Linked DNA regions of Homo sapiens: all the other regions are linked to region 4. The links are contacts of gene promoters, found by promoter capture Hi-C in blood cells and fetal thymus (Javierre and others, 2016). All regions are on one chromosome and are shown on one strand. The core of a region is centred on a gene start or on the middle of the fragment in contact, and the rest is flanking DNA. Distances in the headings are between cores, read along the strand shown. Region 1 holds the start of FOXD2 (forkhead box D2). Region 2 holds the start of TEX38 (testis expressed 38). Region 3 holds the start of EFCAB14 (EF-hand calcium binding domain 14). Region 4 holds the start of CAMTA1-DT (CAMTA1 divergent transcript).

Region 1 (3,694 bases), core at 970-3,469, about 41 Mb before region 4:
CCTCAGTGGAGTGGGATCCAGGGTTTCTGCAGGGAATATAAAGACCCCCTGCTTCACCTCTCCGTTCAGCTCCGCCTGCGTAGACACTGGTTTAGGCTTCAGAGGAAACGAACTTCCTTGGAGAACAGCAAAAAAAAAAAAAAAAAAAAAAAGGTTGAATTTTTCTTTTAAGCACAAAGCAGATAATAGATGTCTTTAAATTATAATATTGGACAAGCAGGGTCTCAACGTTGGGGAAGAAGTGAGAGGGGAAAGGCAGAAAGGGAGACCCTCTGTTGGTGTTTCTGGCGGGATCCGTGGAGCCTGGCCAGGCATCTCTCCCGGAATGTGTTCCCCGAGAGGCGCAGAGGCAGGGAAAAAAACGAAGCCCCCACCCCCCTGCTTTTATTTCTCAAACTGTAAAGAATCTTGGCCTGCGACTTCTTCGCGTAGCCCCGGGCCTGTCGCCCTGAGCGATAGAGCCCGCTTAGTCCCAACTATCTGCGAGATTCTGTGCGTGGAGCCTGAAGTGCCGTGTCACGCGTGCCGGCCCAAGGTCTGGAGACTTCATAAATAGACTCCCTGAGTTCCGCTGGGACCGCAGGAACTCCCGGGAGAGGCTGAGGAGTGCGGACCTAACCGGCCCTGGGCCTGCTGCGGTCAGAAGTGGCAGCCACTAAGGCCGGCGACTTTGCTGGCAAACCGGGACCCTGAGGACAGCAGCGCGTCCCCGGGATGCGAGAGGCGAATGTGGCCAGCAACGGGAGCCAGGGCCGGAGCAGTCAGCATGGCCAAGACCTGGGCTTGGCCCCCAGGACCCGCGGCTGCCGCGAATGGCGGTCCCGGAGAGCCCTCGCCGGCGCCCGGGGGTGCTGCCCCGCCGCCACCGTGGCCCATGATGTGGTCTATAGAGAAGGAAGGCCTCTGCCCTGCCCCGGCGCCCCCGCCGCCTGCACCACCGCCCGCGTCCGTCTTGAGGCCCTGGCGCAGAAGTGCGGTGGGCAGACCCGCCGCGGTGCCGGCTGCGGGAGGACTCAGGGACGCCGCGTAGAAGGCTTTGGCGCAGCCCAGCTCCGCGCCCAGGAAGGCGGGCAGGCCTGCGGGGCCCGGGCCCGGGCCCGAGCCTGAGGCAGGCGCAGGAGCTGGGGCCGATCCCGCGCCTGCGAACACCGAGGCCGTCGGAGGTCCGGGTGGAGGCGCGGCGGCGCGGCCTGGGGGTACCGACAGCTGGCAAGGAGCGGCGGCGGCTGCCGCGGCGAAAGCGAAGGCGTGCGGGTGCGGGTGCGGATGCGGGGCCGGCCCCGGCGGGGGTGCGCCGTAGGCCGGGAGAGCCAGCCCGTAGCCGTAGCCGTAGGCGCCGTAGGCAGCGAAGCCGGGCAGGAAAGCGCCGGGATCCCCCGCCGCCGCGGCCCCGCCACGCAGCAGCAGCTCCGGGTGAGGGTGCGGGTGTGGGTGCGGCGGCGGCAGGGGCTGCCGCTTGAAGCGCTTGCGACGCCGCAGGAAGCTGCCGTTGTCGAACATGTCGGCCGACTCCGGGTCCAGCGTCCAGTAGTTGCCCTTGCCCGGGTTGCCCGGCTCGCGGGGGATCTTGACGAAGCAGTCGTTGAGAGAGAGGTTGTGGCGGATGCTGTTCTGCCAGGCGGGGAACTTCTCCCGGTAGTAGGGGAAGCGGCCGCTGATGAACTCGCAGATCTCGCTCAACGTCAGCCGCTTCTTGGGGCTCTGCAGGATGGCCATGGTGATGAGCGCGATGTACGAGTAGGGCGGCTTCACCAGCGGGCTCCGCGTCGCCGCGCCCCCCGACGGCGGTCCCGGCCCGGGCCCCGCTGCGCCGCGGGCCGCCGCGGCGCCTGGCCCCGGGCTCCCCGCTGCGGCCGCCGCCCCCCGGGACGCCAGAGCGCGGGGCTCGCCGTCCGAGCAGCCACCAGACTCCTCCTCGTCCTCGGCTAAGTCTGCCTCGGCTTCCTCCGCGGGAGGCTCGTGGCCGTGGGGGAGCACGTCCCGGGGGGCGCGGGGCCCGGAGCGAGCTGGGAGCTCCCCCCCGCCGCTGCCGCCGCCCACCACGTCTATGTCTGCGTCGGCCTCGGACAGCGCGGCCGGGGAGCTCTCGGAGGACATGATCTCGCAGCAGCAGCTGCCCAGGGTCATGGTGCCGCTGCCGCCGCCGCCGCCACTCTCCGGCTCCGCTCCGGCAGCGGCTCGGGCTCGGCCGCGCTGCCTCTGGGGCGAGTGCGTTTTGCGCGCGGGCGGGGAGGGGGCGGGGGACTGAGGCAGGCAGGGAGGGGTGTCCCCCGGCTCCGCAGCGCCCCCTGGCGGCCCAGCTCGGCCGCGCTCACCTTCCAGGGCACGACCCGCCGGCGGCCCCCGCCACTACCCCGGGAATCCGAGCTGGGACCCGCCGCTGGGGCGCAACGGAAGGAGCTGAGGCTTTCCCTTACCTGGGCGGGCCTCAGCCCCTAGTCCCCTCGGGGTGGCAGTGGTTGGTGGTGGGGGATTGTCCCTCCCGCCTAGCGGCTGCCTAAGGCGGAAGAGCTGCGGGCTAGGGCGGAGCTCCCTGGGCGGGGTGGGGCGAGGCGACAGGGGCGGGCGTAGCGCCTCCGCTGAGGGACCCGGCGGGAACAAACCGCCGCCGCGGCGGGAGCTGGGCTCGAGTGGCCGGAGGCGGGCCCTTGTCTTCGCCGCCGCTCCTGCACCCTGTGCTCCCTGAAGCCGCCGCCTTCAGAACGCTCAGCCCCTGGATGTTAAGGCTCACTCGGGCGCCAGCCGCAGCCAGGGAAGTGGCGGCGGTCCCCACCCGTCCTCTCCCCAAGGCGGCGCCCGGGCCACCGGGCCGAAGCGCAGTGGGAGCGCGAGGCTGAGACGCCGGGACCCACGCCGCCCCAGCGCGGCCCGCCGGCGCCCACCCGAGCCCGCACGGCTTCCAGCCCGAGGGGAGACGCATTCGAGTGATCACCAGGAGCGAACTTGGCGCCCGCAGCCTTGGGCCTGGGAGAGGTGAGATTGCGGCGGCGCCCTCTCCTCCCTCCGCTGTCGGGCCCGCCACCCCTCTCCGCGCGGAGAGGCCGGGCAGAGCGCCGGCCGCTGTGGCCGCGTTCCCGGGGCGCGGGCCGGTCTACTGCTCCGAGTTTGCCTGTTCTCCGACCCTCTGGATCTCGGCATCCGTTTGTCTCAGTCTCTGTGACTATCTCACTCTCCGTGAGTCTCTGTGGAAACGGCATTTGTCTGGATGTCTGTTCATGGGTCTGGGAATCCGCTTAATTTCTCCCTCCCCTCTCCCTGGCCCCAGTTGCCCTGAGGACTGGACACCCCCCACCTTCCTGGCTCCCAGGGTTCTGGGCCCCACCGACAGGCGGCAGGACCTCCTCCGCCCCCTGCCCGACACCCCCTCAGTGAACCCTGACCTCCACCAAGTGTTGCCTTCATCTCTCAAAAGTCTTGTGCAACTAAGGTTGGCCCTGTGCCTTGTTTCTCGCTAGCCGGGTTCCTGCCCATCCTATTAGACCTCTTTCTCCCCCGGCCTCCCTCCAGGACCCAGAAACAAGCAGCTTCAACACAGATTGGGCCCATTTCAGCCTCTGGGGCACGGAAGGGGAGATGGGCGCTGGACGTGAGCAGGAACTGAGCGGATGCCTGGGCTGCTGCCCCGACAGCGCCGCACAGTGGCTAAAGCTCGGGCGTGCGAGGCCGGAATCCCAGCTGCCTCCGCTGTAGCAAG
Region 2 (3,385 bases), core at 645-3,144, about 40 Mb before region 4:
AAGTACTGGTTCAGTGTGTCTCCCCACAGCCAACCACCAGTGCCAGTTCATATTGGTGAGACTCAGCAACCAACTTGGTTTGCAAAGTGACCCCATCAGACAGGAAGGACATTGCCTTCCTAACAGCAAATGAGAAACGAGGGAGCCTTGGACTTTTTTTTTTTTCTTTTAATGTTTCATAGCATGACATCCAGGTGGGTCCTGACCTCTGTCAATACCACCTTCCTGAGGTTAGTTCCATTTCCTACTCTGCACCTGATTCCTGCAGCTCCCACCTTCAGTGAGAGGAGGCTACAGTTCTGAAGGAAAAGGCTTGGCATTGAAGCTATGGTCTTCCTGGGCCAGATTCAGGAGGGAATGGAAGAGAACATTCCTTTCAGGACAGGTGGCCAAAGGATAGGAGACAGAGTGGTTCAGCAGGGGGGGTAGGTTGCACAAGGGTGGGGCAAAGGGCACCTCCTGAAAGATGGGAAGTGGGAATGGGGATCTGGCCTGGGGCTGCTGTGGAGCCAGCTGCAGTGCAGGTTGCAGGGGAGCAGGGGCTTCCGCCTTGGGGTTGCTGTCTTGGTCAGCATGGCTCCTGCCTTCGGGGATGTCCAAATCCCACAGAACATCTGGATTCTGGACCTCAGTCTCAGTCTTGGTGACAGCAGGGGCAGGGCCCGTGTTGATGGCTGCATTCATGCCGTAGCGCCGTCGCTTGTTAATCCAGTACAACAATGGGCTGTAGGTGAATGTGGCAGCTCTCATCACCTCCACCCACTGCTGGGCATGCTCTTCCCGCCTCAAGTTCTTCCTCCAGTGCAGAAAGATAATGCACCCTCCAGTTATCACAGAACACAGCCCCAGGATTCCAAAGTACAATGAGACCCACACTAAGGCAGCAAGAAAGAAAAAGAGGCATGCTGGCTGATAGCTGTAGCTTGGGGCCTGAGCTGTTTCTCATTCCTCTTTCACTTAACCCATGCATCAATCGCTCCATCCACTTAACTACTCTCACCGTTCCTTCCCTCCCTTATTGACTTGCCTCATCATTCCCTTATTCAGTCAAAGCTAGATTTCCAGGGAGCTTAAGCACCACCTTTAACTCTTTACAGATCACAAAAGCTAGGTCTAGCGGGGGCATGTGCTGCCCAGGCTCAGTCAAGCCTCTGATTCCTAACCCAGGACCCATCCAATCCATCAGACTGAGAAGTTTCACTATGGGCAAGTCCATCAAGAAGCAAAAGTTCACCAGCACTTTGTGAGGCCCAGGTGGGCAGATCACTTGAGGTCAGGACTTCAAGTCCAGCCTGGCCAACATGGTGAAACCCCGTCTCTACTAAAAATTTTAAAATTAGCCAGGTGTGGTGGTGCATGCCTGCAGTCCCAGCTACTTCAGAGGCTGAGGCAGGAGAATCACTTGAATCCAGGAGGTGGAGGTTACAGTGAGCCTAGATTGAGCCACTGCACTCCAGCCGGGGCAACAGAGCAAAACTTCATCTCAAAAAAAAAAAAAAAAGTGAAAGTTCATCAGTTGACAGAGACACCAATGTCCCATCCCATTCCATTCAGCTGTGATAGTCCTGGGCTATTGATAGTATCTTCTCTGGTTGATCAGAGCATGGTCTTTGCCTTAAAATAATTCTTAGTTTTCTAGAGTAGACTATCTCCTAACTGCTTAGCTCTCCTCCAGGCAGCCAGGCACTGTCCCATCCATGCAAAGGGCCTTCCCTGAGTGTTTGTCCCCAAGCCCTAAGGCACAAGTCCAGTGACAGGGACTGGAGGAGCACTTACTCCCAGGGAAGCGCAGGTCCTCCTGTTGGGAATCCATACAGCTGAGCTTTGGTACCTGGCCGATGGCTCTGGGGAGAGGGAACTCACCCACCCATCTGCCCAGCCAGTCAGCCCATCTGCCCAGCCAATCAGAGTCTCCAGAATGCCCAGGCCCTTTGTTCTCTAAAGGAGAGGTCACTGGGTTCTGAGAATTGGGCATTCTAGGGGCAGTGCTTGTGAAGTGGTCCTGGGTTAATGGAAGGAGGGGACTTCATCCAGTGGCATTTTTTGGGTGGAATGTCACTACTACTTCCATCAGAGACTGGTTCACCTATTGAATTGTCTGTACCTACCCCTTATGGTGAACCCACAGAGCAGACCCCAGAAAAGGGCCATTGTCCCTCAGGTACTTACGGATGTTGCTGGTCTTTAGGGAACGGTTGATGGGATACCTGTCCCCAGTGAGGAATGTAACAAGGAACACACAGCATTGGGCAGCCCTGTTCTCAAAAAGTATCTAACCAAGTTGGCAGGAAGAAACCTGCTCAAGGGAACCAAGTGGTCAATACCTCCTTCTTTGGCTCCAACAATCTGTCTTTTATTTAATTACCTTCCTTCAAGTGCTGACAAGTGTTTCCCAGGCCCCAGGCCCTGTGGGGCTTCCCACCATCTGGCCTGCATCTACTTCCAGCCTTACTTCCCTCCTCGTCCTCCACACACTTTTCCCTTTTGCCTAGTCCGTACTCCTGAACAGACCCTGCTCATTCACATCTCTGGAGGTGTGCCCATGCTGCTCCTTCACCCAGGAGTGCCCCTGCCCACTTTTCCACCACTGAACACCTGCTCATCCTTCAAGACTCAGCTCAGCCCCCCTACTCTGTGACAGACTGCCCAGAATCATATCATCGCCAATTTGAAGAAACTTTGAGAGTTGTCTAGTTCATCTCCACCATCTGATCCCACCATCAGGGCCATGCTTGACTCCTGGGGGTAGATTTTTCCCCACACAGCAACTAATCTCCCTGGACTCAAGACTCACTTGAGTCAGGAACTTGCTCACCACCTCCTGAGGCAGCTTGATGCATTTATGGGCAGCTCAGTTAGAAAGCCCTTCCCTAATTAAGCTTAAGTCAGCCTTCCCAGTATGTTGCACCACTGCTTGTAGCTCAGCTTCTTAGCACCATTTTAATGACTCCCCTCTTTATAGTCCTCCAATGTGTGACTTAGGGAACTATTTAGCACAGAATTCTCTCCAGGGTCCACTTACCCTTGTTCTCCTCGTATATCACTGGCCCCTACTTTCCAGTCTCCTTTGCTGGTTTCTCCCTTTTCCCCTGATCTCTAAATGTAGGCATGTCTAGGGCTCAGTTCTTAGTGCTCTATCTACATTCATTCCATCAGTTATCTCACCCAGACCCCTGGCTTTAAATATCACTATACACTGACAGTACGCAACTGTATCTCTCCAGCCTGGAATGCTCCTCAGAACTTTAGACTCATACCCAAATACCTGGTTGACATCCCTCCTTGCCAGTCTGTTAAATTATCCCAAACCAACATGTCCAAAACCAAACTCTGATTATCCATCCTCCAAAGTCTACCCTACCTACAGCCTTCCTCCTCTTCATAA
Region 3 (3,352 bases), core at 295-2,794, about 40 Mb before region 4:
ATCAGCATCATCTCTAGCTGGACTGTAACAAACTGCTCTCCTGTGTTCCTCACTCTCCCCCCACTTTTTTCTACAAAGTAGCCAGAGTAATTTTTTCCTTTATTTTATTTTATTTTATTTATTTATTTATTTATTTATTTATTTATTTATTTATTTATTTATTTATTTTTGAGACGGAGTCTCGCTCTGTTGCCAGACTGAAGTGCAGTGGTGCAATCTCGGCTTGTTGCAACCTCCGCCTCCCGGTTTCAAGCCATTCTCTTGCCTCAGCCTCCCAAGTAGCTGGGATTACAAGCGCGCACCACCACGCCCAGGTAATTTTTGTATTTTTAATAGAGACAAGGTTTCACCATATTGGCCAGGATGGTCTCCATCTCCTGACCTTGTGATCCGCCCACCTCAGCCTCCCAAAATGCTGGGATTACAGGCGTGAGCCATCGCGCTGGCCCAGAGTGAATTTTTTTTTTTTTTTTTTTTTTTACGGAAAAGCCAGAGTATGCTACCTCTCAGCTTAAAGCCCCCAGTGCTTTCCCAAAGTCCTTTCAGTGATCCATAAGGCCCTAAAGCCCTGGCCTCTGATGCTTCTCTGACCTCATTTCCTATCACTCTGCTCCTTGCTCTTCTGGTCCAGCCACAACAGGTCTTCCTGGTCACTCCTTCCTGCAGCCACTGCACAGCTCATTCCCTCACCTCTCCTCCGATAAGCTGACTAAATGTTCCCTTTTCACAGAGGCACTCCCCATCACCTGACCGTGTTTCAATTTTCATCATAACACTTATCACCTCCTGACATTTAATATGTTTGCCTATTGTTGCTCTCCTCCCTCTAGAGTATAAATAAACTGCAGGAATAGATTGGCAGATAAGATACACGATGCTCAGTTAAACTTGCATTTCACATACACAATGAATAATTTTTTAGTGTGAGGATGTCCCAGATGTTGCATGGGATGTCTTAATGCTAAAAAATTGTTTGCTGTTTCTCTGAAATTCAAACTTTACTGGGTGTCCTACATTTTTATTTGCTAAATCTGGCAACACTATACAGGAAGACAAGGACCCTGGTTATTTTGTTCATGGCTGTATCCCCAGCGCTAGAACAGCTCCTGACACGTAGTAAGTAAGCTCTCAATAAATATTTATTGACTGAATGAATGTGTTAATTAATCTGAAACGCGCCTAAACTTTTAACAGCCTGTGTGAGAGTCAGAGAGGCGGAGCCTTCAGACTTGGTTAGTCCAGGGGGCGTGGGCGGCTGATGAACTTTCGAAGTAGGTCGAGCAGCCGGGCGCTTTGCCTGCCCCGCCCGCGCTCCGCAGGATGCAGGACTCCACCCGGCTCAGGTTCGCAGCAGGTCCCGGAAGCCCTCCTGGGGGCGGGGCCACCCTAATCGGCAGGTGGGACCCAGCCCCAGCCGGGGCAGGGCCCCTTTAACGCCCCACCTCTCCGCCACGACTTTCGCCCCGGCGTGACGTCACCCCAGCGGGCGACCAATGGGAGTGCGGCTTACTGGCAGGCGGCGCAGGCGGCCGCTGCCAAAGGGGAAGTGATCTGGGGCTGGAGCGATGGCCCGGGGCTGGAGCTCGCGGCCGCCGCCGCCGCAGCCGCCGCCACCAACGCCAACAACAACGTGTCGGGAGCAGCCGCGGCCGAAGCCGGAGCAGGGGCCGGAGTCGCGGCTGGAGTGGGGCCTGCGCGTGTGAGTGGCCGAGAGTTGCCCGTGCCGGAGACCTCAAACTCCGGGCGGGAGCGCTTTCGGTCGGCCGAGCCGCCGTCGCCCGCGGCACCGTGTCCCCAAGGCCCAGACAGCGGGGCGGGGGTCTATCAGGCGCGGGACTGGCTTCTCTCAGGCCGACCCTTCTAGCCGGGCTCCGGATCTTCCTCGGCCTCGGGCCCCCTTCACGTTCAGGACGGAGGCCGGAGAACGGTGATCATCACACACCCCAGCCGGCTTCCTGGCCAGGGCATTTTCTCTGCGGCCAAGCAGTGTTGGGATTGTAGCTGCTGGGAGCCCCCTCCTGCCGCCACCTCTCCTGCAAGGAAGGGACTGACGCGTTCCCACTTTCTTACTCTGCACCTCCCCACTCTCTTCCCATTCAAGAACGAGTTTCTCTTCCCTCTCCATTGGAAATCTTGCTCCGGAGGTCCGAAACACGTATTTTAAGCGTGCCCTTCCTCACCTCCTGGAGCACCCTTAGAAGTATTGCCTACTTATCCGGGCTGAGAATCCTTCATTTTTGACCTGGCTTTTTTTTCGCCCTTTGGGAGATAAAGGTCCCTCTCCACCCTCTACTAACACTCTGCACCCAAGGCCTTATCCTTTGGGGTCACCAGCTCCTTGGCCATTTCTATGTGATTTCCCCCACCCATCTGAGTTCCAGTTTCCTCTGGGCTCCAATCTCCAGTCCCTGGCGGATCTGGTCAGTCCCACCCCTAGGTGGGAGTGACCAGGGGGCTCTGGCCCAGGATTCCCAACCCTGGAAGGCAGCTCCAAGGCAGGAAGAGAATTGGGCATCGGGTACGAACCTGGCAGCTCAGGAGTCGGGGCTCCACTCACCCCACACAAAAAGATGAAAAAGCGCAAAGAGCTCAATGCATTGATTGGTTTGGCTGGGGACAGCCGGAGAAAGAAGCCCAAGAAAGGCCCAAGCAGTCACCGCCTGCTTCGCACTGAGCCTCCCGACTCAGACTCTGAGTCCAGCTCCGAAGAGGAAGAGGAATTCGGTGTGGTTGGAAATCGCTCTCGCTTTGCCAAGTGAGTAGTGGTGAAAGGTGGAATGGGAAGAAGGCATCTCCTTGCACTACCAAGGGGCCACATTGACAGGAAGGAGAAAGGAAGTCCTTAGGAAGAAAAAAGGGTGTAGGCCTTGGAAGTCAAAGAGGGAAAAACGGTTTTAGGGAGAAGGTAAGTTCAGATCCTGAATGAAGAATAAGTTAGAGATCTGTCTTTAGGTGTAGAAAGAAAAGCTCCAAATCTGAGGTGGAAATGTGGACTTGGAGAATGTGCCAAGAGCCCAGGGAGTCCTAAAGAAGCAAAGAATGGAGACAGAGGAGCAGAGAAGCTTTGGGGACTAGACTTTTTAAAACAGTGTAGAACAAAGGAGAAGCAGAGACTTTAAGACTGCAGATTATTTCGTTTTTGCACTCTTGATGAGTCTGAATATTGGTGGTGGGGAAATATGGTGAGAGATATACTGTAGGAAGTATGAGCCTTGAGAGTAGGTGGGGTCGGGGGGCAAAAGAAGAGGCATCATTTTCCCTAGCCATTCATAGGTGGAGAGACCACTAGGCAAATCAAGTAGTAAGATTTGAGGACATTGGGATTGGGGCTCAGGATGGGAAAGGACTAAAG
Region 4 (3,417 bases), core at 788-3,287:
ACAGAAGACAGTAATCAAAACATCAAAAAACAAGGCCACATGACCCTTTTCCCAGTGAGGTAGTGTCAACTGATGAAGGTTGCCCCCTCCTGAGACACAAGAGTCAAGTGGAGGCAAAAATATACCCCGGTCTTCCTCAGACACAGGAGCAACTAGTGTGGCCCCTTTTCACTCAAGCACTAGGCACAATGGAAGCCCTGCCCTACATCTTATTGGGGCGCCCACTCTCACCCAGACAAGGAACTCCGAGAAGAGAGAACAAGTCAGTGTAGACACACAAATGGCGAAAGGAGCACGGTGAACGTCCAGTTGTCTCCATAAGAAAAGGAGGGCAACTCAAAGGGTATTTAGGAAATGAGCTCGCCCTAACCCAGCAAAGTGTAAGAGTATGCATGATCTGGAAGAAGTGTCTGCTTTCCTATTTAGAAATGACTTCAGAGCTGCACAAGCCCCCACTATCCACTGGGTGAGGAAAGAAGAACATGGGCAGCCTGAGTCCCCTTGTCCTGGCAAAAAGGGTCAACGGAGAGTGTGCAGAGGCCCCAAAAGAATCCAAAGAAGATGAGCAGATCAGACGGACCCCTGTGCCAAGGAAGGATCGGGGTCACGGAAGGTAAAGGGCAAGGGAGTGTGGAGATCCTCACTTGCCATAGAAACGGAGACCCCACCCTCCTGGCTGTGAGGGTGCAAGGGCAAGAGTAGGATGTGAACGACTGCGAGGGGCGGGGATGCTGCGCAGGCCCCCTTCCCTTCCCGGGAAGCGAAGGGGGAGGGGTCACACGAGGCCCTTCGGCCGAGGGACGCTCGGCAGGACGGGGTCCCCCTGGCGGGGAGAAGCTCGGGGACCCCCCGCCCGCTCAGGGAGGTGTCCACGGGGCTGAAGAGGGTGCCGGAGAGAGTACATCTGGCCCTGCCCGCCGGAGAGCAGGGGGCCGGCGAGGGCTGAGCGCCGGCCGCTGCCGCCCGACGGGGACCGGCCCGGAGCAGTGGGGCGCGGGGCCAGGAGGACCCGAGGCGGATAAACTTTCCGCCCCGCGGCCCCCACCGTGGACCCAGCGCCGGGGGTGCGGGGGCCGCGCAGCGGGCTCGGGAGCGGCGGGGATGCCCGGTCCGGGTGGGGGAGGCGCCGGCCCTCCGCCGGCTCCTCCTCCTCGCTGGGCCCGGTCCCCGCCCCGCGAGCCCCCCGCCCCCTCCGGCCCCAGCCCGCCCCCGGGGGTGGGGTGTGGGGCGCCGCGCTCCGCCGGCCCCGCGAGTCACCTCAGGACTCGGCCGCGCTCCGCCCCCCCACCCCGCCGGCCCCCTCCCCGGCCGGGTCGCCCGCCCGCCCGCCCGCCGCGCCCCCGCGCTCCCGCCCGGCGCCGCCGATGCCCGGGATGTCCGGCGGGGCCGGGTCCCGCCGCCCGCCGCGCCGCCCCCCAGCCCCTCGCGCTCCGGCTCTTACCTTCCGGCTTGTTTTCGGCAGCCATTTCCCCTCCGCGCGCCACATCCTCCTCCTCCTCGCGACCGGGACCCCGAGCGCGCGCCTCGTACCGCCGCCGCCGCCGGCCCAGCCACCCCGCCGCCGCCGCGCACCCGCCCTGGCCCCGCCCCGCGGCCCACGCACAGCTCCCGTTGGGCCGTGCGGCTGCCACTCATCGCTCCCGCCGCCAATCGCCCCGCACCAGGGGTCTCACTACTCTCCGGGAGGAGCGTCCTATCCATCCGGCCCATTGGCTGGTCACCACCCAACGGACTGAAAGGATTGGTCAAGAATCAACGCCCCCTCCCCACCCACTCCCAGGAAAGCCCGCCTTCCGGACCTAAACAAAGCTTCCTAGTGGCCAGAACCCGAAAGAACTGTCCAATCAGGACGGGCCCGACACGGAATATTTCCTCGAGGCCGAGACGTGGCGTTTTGATTGGGCGTCACTACAGTGTTTCCCAGGCCGTCCAGACCAATCAAAGGGGGTTCCCGGAACTCGGGAGCGGCGAAGGGAAGCCCCGCCCCCGAGCGTGACCGTCATGAGGAAGGCGCTCCCTCATTGGCACGCTGGGGCTTTTCCCGCGTGCTCCCGGGGCTGAAGGACGTTCCCGGGGAAGCCGCTGCTGGCGCGTGGGGTCCCGGTGGCTGTGGGGGACGCGCCGGGATCTCCGGGATCCCGCAGCCCGCCGCCGCTGCCGGTGGGGAGCCGGACGCGGGGGGCCTCGGGGCTGAGGTCCGCAGGGGTGCCGCGCCCTGGAGTCCGACTGCCTAGGAGTCCGGGCGTCGCTGCCGGCCGTGGGGGAGGGGCGAGCCTCCCGCCAGGCCCCGCCCCCTCGGCGCCGCGTCCCCACGGCCCCGGCGCCGCCCGCCTGCGCCCGCCTCCTGTGCCCGCCCCCGGTGAGCTCCGTTGTCCCCTTTTCTGGCGGCTTAAAATACCGAAACTTTATTTTGGTCACGTTGCCCATGTGACCCGCGGAGCGGATGACTCATGGTTGCCTGTCCCAGGATGAGGCCGCCGGCCGAAAGCAGAGAAGCGCCAGCCCCGGCCGCCCGGGTGGAGCGCTGGGCAGCCGAGTTTCCCACCCTCCTCAATCCGGAGAGTCCGCGCGGGGCTTTTCCTAATAAATAGCCAGGCACCCGCTGCCCTCGCGCTGCGTACGGGAGCACGTGCCCCCCGGGAGGTGGGCGCCCGCCAGGTGCCCCGGGAACGAGCCTAGGAACCGGGTCCGCCGAGTGCGGCTCTCGGGGCGGCTAGGCGTGCGGGTGGCTGGGCAGCGCTCCCAGGGACCGGCCTCTCTCCGGAGAAAGTAAGGAATTCTGCTCCTGGGCAGGTAATACCGGAAACAAAAGGAGAGGCTGCAATCGCAAATTGTTTAAAAAGAAGAAAAAGGAAAGAAAAGTTGAATGTAAGAGCTCCAGCCCCTCAATGTGATCTTGTACGGTTTGCAGTAAGAACATTTCATTCTTCCGCATTTTATTTTTCCTTTTGCTACTGTTGGTGACAACTAGCAAAATAAGTGAAAAATCCTCGTTCAAGTGTTCTGGCATTAAGATTGACTGTCACACTGAATTCTGTGCCAATCCTAACAACATGTGTTCTTTTTCTGGTCTTCACAAGTAAGAATGTCTTAGGTTTTCCAGAAATAAAGATGTCCCAAAAGAATGTTTTGTGTTACACACTCATTCTTCAAGAAACTTTAATTTTATGAGCCTCAAAAATTGCAAAATTTTAACAACGGCGGGACAATATTTTATCGATTAGCATTCTTAATAGCACCTATGTTGACGATTTGTGTGGAGAAACGGATTCTTAAAAGAAGTGCTGGTGGCATTGTAAATTAGTATATTCCTTTCGAAAAGCAATTTTACAGTATGTATTAAAAGCCATAAAAATGTCTGCATCTTTTGACCCAGTGATCTTACTTCTGGGAATCTGTTCTAAGGAAATAACACTA

Evidence for each region. Contacts are between HindIII fragments. The CHiCAGO score rates a contact against its expected background, and 5 or more counts as called.
Region 1: the fragment with the promoter of FOXD2 here is called in contact with the fragment with the promoter of CAMTA1-DT in region 4 in 1 of 17 cell types (total CD4 T cells); the score reaches 5.3 in total CD4 T cells.
Region 2: a contact is called between the fragment with the promoter of TEX38 here and the fragment with the promoter of CAMTA1-DT in region 4, in 1 of 17 cell types (non-activated CD4 T cells). The highest score is 8.4, in non-activated CD4 T cells.
Region 3: the fragment with the promoter of EFCAB14 here is called in contact with the fragment with the promoter of CAMTA1-DT in region 4 in 1 of 17 cell types (total CD4 T cells); the score reaches 11.0 in total CD4 T cells.

The regions. Positions count from the first base shown.
Region 1 is chr1:47,436,569-47,440,262 of GRCh38, reverse strand. FOXD2 (forkhead box D2) reads right to left here and starts at 2,219. Exons shown (of 1, transcript NM_004474.4): 1 at 1-2,219. The coding sequence starts at 2,127. The coding sequence ends at 640. It overlaps LINC01389 (long intergenic non-protein coding RNA 1389), which reads left to right and starts at 2,946. Exons shown (of 5, transcript NR_126355.1): 1 at 2,946-2,973. RefSeq lists an enhancer at 32-801 and silencers at 1,990-2,169, 2,200-3,099, 3,580-3,694. The HindIII fragment of the contact is 12,776 bases long and covers 1-3,694 here.
Region 2 is chr1:46,670,363-46,673,747 of GRCh38, reverse strand. It overlaps TEX38 (testis expressed 38), which reads right to left and starts at 1,894. Exons shown (of 2, transcript NM_001145474.4): 1 at 1,777-1,894; 2 at 154-875. The coding sequence starts at 1,813. The coding sequence ends at 292. The HindIII fragment of the contact is 3,767 bases long and covers 1-2,881 here.
Region 3 is chr1:46,717,306-46,720,657 of GRCh38, reverse strand. It overlaps EFCAB14 (EF-hand calcium binding domain 14), which reads left to right and starts at 1,544. Exons shown (of 11, transcript NM_014774.3): 1 at 1,544-2,755. The coding sequence starts at 2,571. RefSeq lists silencers at 1,320-1,369, 1,690-1,739. The HindIII fragment of the contact is 11,051 bases long and covers 1-3,064 here.
Region 4 is chr1:6,783,600-6,787,016 of GRCh38, reverse strand. It overlaps CAMTA1-DT (CAMTA1 divergent transcript), which reads left to right and starts at 2,037. Exons shown (of 3, transcript NR_149049.1): 1 at 2,037-2,359; 2 at 2,794-2,868; 3 at 2,972-3,125. It overlaps CAMTA1 (calmodulin binding transcription activator 1), which reads right to left and starts at 1,563. Exons shown (of 23, transcript NM_015215.4): 1 at 1,442-1,563. The coding sequence starts at 1,486. RefSeq lists silencers at 811-990, 1,001-1,270, 1,481-1,640, 1,981-2,390, 2,521-2,580 and 1 more and enhancers at 1,846-2,520, 2,521-3,197. The HindIII fragment of the contact is 4,377 bases long and covers 1,812-3,417 here.